Linked DNA regions of Homo sapiens: region 1 is linked to region 2. The links are contacts of gene promoters, found by promoter capture Hi-C in blood cells and fetal thymus (Javierre and others, 2016). All regions are on one chromosome and are shown on one strand. The core of a region is centred on a gene start or on the middle of the fragment in contact, and the rest is flanking DNA. Distances in the headings are between cores, read along the strand shown.

The links. The method cuts DNA at HindIII sites, captures the fragments that hold promoters and counts their contacts. A CHiCAGO score of 5 or more calls a contact.
Region 1: a contact is called between a fragment that was not itself captured here and the fragment with the promoter of GATM in region 2, in 2 of 17 cell types (M2 macrophages and M1 macrophages). The highest score is 5.8, in M2 macrophages.

Annotation. Positions count from the first base shown.
Region 1 is chr15:45,324,949-45,327,648 of GRCh38, forward strand. No RefSeq gene overlaps it. Among named protein-coding and RNA genes, the nearest start is that of SLC28A2-AS1, 47 kb to the left of the region's middle. RefSeq lists an enhancer at 1,314-2,244. The HindIII fragment of the contact is 2,053 bases long and covers 411-2,463 here.
Region 2 is chr15:45,377,191-45,379,890 of GRCh38, forward strand. It overlaps GATM (glycine amidinotransferase), which reads right to left and starts at 1,354. Exons shown (of 9, transcript NM_001482.3): 1 at 1,195-1,354. The coding sequence starts at 1,263. RefSeq lists a silencer at 1,153-1,482 and an enhancer at 1,623-1,702. The HindIII fragment of the contact is 1,395 bases long and covers 858-2,252 here.

The DNA of each region.
Region 1 (2,700 bases), core at 187-2,686, 52 kb before region 2:
TTCAGATACAGTTTACCAATCAGGGTCATTTTACCATAAGTAGGTTGTCAAGCAACAAAAGTGACATAGTTTCCTTTCTCCTTCTCCTTCTCCTACTACAACTGACCCTTGAACAACACAGGTTTGAACTGCATGGGTCCACTTATATATGAACTTTTTTCTGCCTTTGCCACCCCTGAGACAGCAAGACTAACCCCTTCTCTCCCTCTTCTTCCTCAGTCTACTGAACACGAAGATGATGAGGTGAAGACCTTTATAATGATCTACTTCCGCTTAATAAAGATATATTTTCTCTTCCTTATGATTTTAATAATGTTTTTCTTTTTTCTAGCTTTCCTCATTGTATAAATATAGTATATAATACATATAACATATAAAATATGCTAATCAACGGTTTATGTTATTGGTAAAGCTTCTCATCAAGTAGTTAAGTTCCTGGGAAGTAAAACATTATACTTAGATTTTCAACTGTGTTGGGAGGTCAGCACCTCTAACCCCCAGCTTGTTCAAGGGGGAACTGTATTACTATGATCTATTTTTTACCCATAGAACATGTCTGACACCAAATATGTGGTGTTTTTTTTTTCCCATGCCAACCTCAAATTCTCCTTCTCTCCAGAAACCAACTGGGTATCCAATAATTCAATTGAATTCAATTCTGACACTAGTTACCTGGTGTTAGTATCAGATGGCACAGTTGAAAGGGCCCAGTCCCACAAGACTGCCCACAAGACTTCAGATGCCAATCACAAGCTGAGCCTCCCATACTTCTGTCTTAATGGCTATAAACTAGGGGTTTCCACAACCCTCTCCTCAGGTTCAATAATTTGCTAGAATGGCTTGTAAAACTCAGGAAATCATTATACTGACATTTAGCAGTTTATTTATAAATGATATTATAAAGGCTACAGATGAACAGGCAGAGGACAAGGTGTGAAACGGGAGATGTGCAGAGCTCCAGTGCCCTCCCTGGGCACCCCACCCTCTCGGTGTAACTGTAGCAGATCCATTGTCCCATGTGCACAGCAAGTCAGTAGGCAGAGACACCAGGGTGCAGCAGAGAAAGAGGTTTAATTGTAGGGTCTCCGAACTAGGAGATGGGAGGAAACCTCAACTCCATCTCCCAAGCAATCTGGGGCTAGAGATTTTGTGGGCTTTTTTTTTTTTTTTGCGATGGAGTTTTGCTTGTGTCGCCCAGGCTGGAGTGCAATGGTGCCATCTCGGCTCATTGCCACCTCTGCCTCCCAGGTTCAAGCAATTCTCCCGCCTCAGCCTCCAGAGTAGCTGGGATTACAGACTCCTGCCACCATGCCCAGCTAATTTTTGTATTTTTAGTAGAGACAGGGGTTTCACCATGTTGGCCAGGCTGGTCTTGAACTCCTAACTTCAGGTGATCCACTCACCTGGACCTCCCAAAGTTTACAGGCGTGAGCCACCGTGCCCGGCCTGGGGCTAGAGATTTTAAGGGTTTTGGAGTGGGCTGAAGTGTGAAGATCATTGATTGGTTGAAGAGTGCAGGGTAAAGTCATGGGACAGAAAGATGAAGAAGCTGTATTCTCATGCTGATTCCATTTCTCTGTGGGGGTCTTCAAACTGGTTGGTTTCAGCTGTTTCACTGGAGTTTGGGATCTGAAAACATCTTAGGCAACCTTCAAACAAAAGCCATATGATTCTAACGGCGGTGATCCTGTCTATAGGAATAATGGGGGTGCAAATGGGCAGTATCTAGTGCTATTGACTTTCAGCAACAAGGAAATGAGCCAAAGTGCAGCCTGATTAAGGCTTAATTATAACGAAATTTCTGCCCAGAACTCAGCATGAAATCCTTGTCAACCCTGTGGGGATGGCTTCATCAGCCGCTCGATGTGTTTTCCAACTCAGAAGCTCTCTGAAGCCCTTTGTTTAGGGTTTTTATGGAGGTTCTATTACATAGGCGTGATTGCTTAAATCATGGGCCATTGGTGATTTACTCAATCCAGCTTTTCTCTCCCTCCCTCGGGGTGAGTAGGGCTGAAAGTTCCAATCCTCTATAATCACATGTTTGGTTCCTCTGGCAACCAGTGCCCATCCTGAAGCTATCTATGGGCTTCCAGCCACCAGTCATCTAATTAACATAATTCATGTACACTCGAAAAGAGCTTGTTGAAAATAACAAAAGATGCTCCTGTCACCTCGATTGCTCAGAAAATTCAAAGAGTTTTTAGAAGCTCTGCGCCTGGAACCAGGGATAAAAACCAGCGATTTTAACAAAAGACGCTCCTGTCACTCCTATCACTCGGGAAGTTACCAGAATTTTAGAATCTCTGTACCAGAAACTGGGGGCCTGAAGACCCAATATGTATTTCTTACTATATCACAGTATCACAGTCCTTATTAGGTTGCCAGTGGAAAAGATGTAGAAAGTTAACCAAAAGTCAAATTTTCATGTAGGAGAGAAAAGGTTTTGCTAACACTTCACCCACAAGCTTCTTTATCAACAAAGTAACTCATCATTGGAACCTGTATGCTCTATTTATATTTTCAGTATACATTAGTTGGCCAAAATTTAGGTATAAAAGTAGGGATAGCAACAAAAAAAGAAATCATTTCTTCACTTCTTTTTTTTTTTTTTTTTTTTTTGAGATGGAGTCTCACTCTGTTGCCCAGGCTGGGGTGCAGTGGTGCAATCTCGGCTCACTGCAACCTCCGCCTCCTGGGTTC
Region 2 (2,700 bases), core at 104-2,603:
CTCTAAAACTTCCCGCCAGTCTCAGCTGGGGACGGAACCTCCTTTTCCCTTAAGTATCAAAGGTTACCAATATTAGGCTTTTTATTTATTTTTTTTTACAAATGAAAAGTTGGGAACATTTGTAAAGGACCTTATCTTTCAGAATAACCAGCTTCAAATCAAATTTTTTTCATCTTTGACATACACTTCGCATTCTTTGGCACTTCAATTCTGAGAGTGAGCAACTGCCATCTGCTCCATTTTACAGATGGTCCACAGTACCCTAGCCAAGGTCAGGATTAGCTCAGGCGTAAATTCAAACAAATAAGAAGGAGATCTAAAAACTTCAAAAGCCTTTTAAAAATGCATGGCCTATAAAATCTAGAGCAGGGAGGGTCCCTCAACCCCTGAGCAAACCTCAACCCCCCAAATCTCTATCCTGCTCTGTTAAAAGCCTTAGGAAGTGGGCAGGAGGAGAACTCGGGTGGAGGCAGAAGAAAGACGGAGAATGACAGCTGTTCAGGAACCAGTTGCTGGGAGGAAGCCAGAATGTCGGAGCGATTCCAGTACTAGAAGCATGGGAGGGTCTGCTGCCAGGGCAGCCGAGGGCGGGGAGCGCAGAAACTCTGCTTACAGGCTGCACTCGCCCCGACTCCTCTCCAGACGTGGGATCCCATGTTATACTTGGAGTGAATCTGGTCGCTCGCTCCCCGTCCCCGATTCCCACTTTGCTTGCCTCTTCTCCCCATCCATCTACCCCACACGCATTTTCCAGAAATCTCCCCAACTCGACGCCCACTCAGGCTACTGAACCCCAATAACGCCACCCTTTTACTAAGAGGAGCCTCCGTCGTCCCAACCCCTTGCTCCGAGCGGGAAGCTTGGTGCAGCGCACCAAGGTCCGGTAGAGGGGGGCGGCGCCCCCTGCGCCGTGGGCCAGCAGGCCGCGGACGCGCAGACAGCAAGTGGACCCCAAGGGCTGGAGCCGCAACGCAAGTTCCCCCTGACTGGGGGACGCCGCCCAGCTCCTGGAGCCTGCGAAGGCTCTTGAAGCTGAGCTTCCCAGGGATACCAGAAGGGACACTCTCGTGCAATTCCGGCTAGGGAAAGCGAGGGAAGGTGGCGGCTCCGGGCAGGGAGCGAGCGAGTGCTCCACGCCGCCCGCAGGATCGAGTGAGTCACGCGGCCGCCAGACGAGGCCGGTGGCGCACGCACCCGAGATCCGATGTAGTGCACCGCCTCGGCGCCGCGGCTCCCGCCGCGCAGACACCGCACCCGCAGCATCGCCCTGGCCCGGCTGGTCCACGCGCGGAATGTTCCTGGCCTCTGGGCCGCGTCGGTCCAAGCCTTCCCGAGAGCGCGCCCGGAGCGGGGTGGGCGGGCGCGCGGGGCCCGAGGCCTTTTGTAGCCGCGCTCCGCCCCGGCCGCCCCCCGCGGCCCCATTGGCTGCCGGGAACAGGTGGTGGGGCCGGCGTAGCGCCCCGAATTAGGAACTGTCGGGAAGCGCCGCGGCCGCTGGCTCGAGCCTCCGATGCTTGCCCTTTTTTAGCCAGCGGGGCCACTGACGGCTTCTGTTGCACGTCCGGACCCGGACCCAGACCCGAGCGTCGCAAGAAGGCCCGTTGGAGTCTCGCGCAACTGGGCAGGACGCGACTTCTGACGAAGTGACAATGGTCTATGCATATATTAAGTGAATATTTGAGAATTTAAATATGCAAAGCGTGAGTACAGTGTTACCCTTAAATTCACATATGCGCACTGAACCAGTCACCTCATTTTTCGGTAAACGAAACCACCTAAAGATTAGGTGGTTTCTTGGTGCAACATCGGGTTTGAGACTGCAGAAAACTAAGTCTGGAAATTGGGCCATTTGTTCCCCGGGGAGGCAGTGCTTTCCTTCCAGTACCCCGTCGGTTGTTATTTGGAACACCTGGCATTTCACATGGTCTTTGGCCATATGCCCCTGGCTTGAGAAACTCCGTCATGAAAATCGACAAGTGTGGGTCAGAAATAAGGGAGGACGACAGTTTCGTTCCTTCCATTTCATGTTTTAAAATTTTTGTTTCAACTTGATCAGGATTCTTTTTTAGAAAAGTATTTTCCCTCACAGTGCAGTCTTAATTGCTGTGGATTTGTACAGAGCTAGAGAACTCAGGTTAACATTTATGCTCCTAGCAGGAGGGGGGGCAAGAGATTTGAGTATTTCATTTTTGTACTTATAGAATTATAACTATTCATTTTTGATGAGCTGTCTTTTCAATTTTGGTATCTCAAGCTTGTTTTCCAGAGTTCATGGATGGAAAGCACCAGACGAGCAGATGGCATGGTGGAAAGAGCCTCCGAGAGGGAATTAGGATAACTGAGTTCCAGTCCTGAATCACTTATAGACTACTATATGTCTTCCTGAATTGCAGTCTTCTTATCTGCAAAGTGAGAACAATAGAATTTACTGTCCCTAGCACATGGGGGGTTGCTGAGAGGCCAAAATGAGAGATTGTACATGCAGAACTTGATGCGTGGCATTAGAGCTGTATGAGGCCGGGTGCAGTGGCTCACGCCTGTAATCCCAGCAATTGGGAAGGCCGAGGCAGGCGGATTGCCTGAGGTCAGGAGTTTGAGACTATCCTGGTCAACATGATGAAACCCTGTCTACTAAAAATACAAAAACTAGGTCGGGCGCGGTGGCTCATGCTTGTAATCCCAGCACTTTGGGAGGCCGAG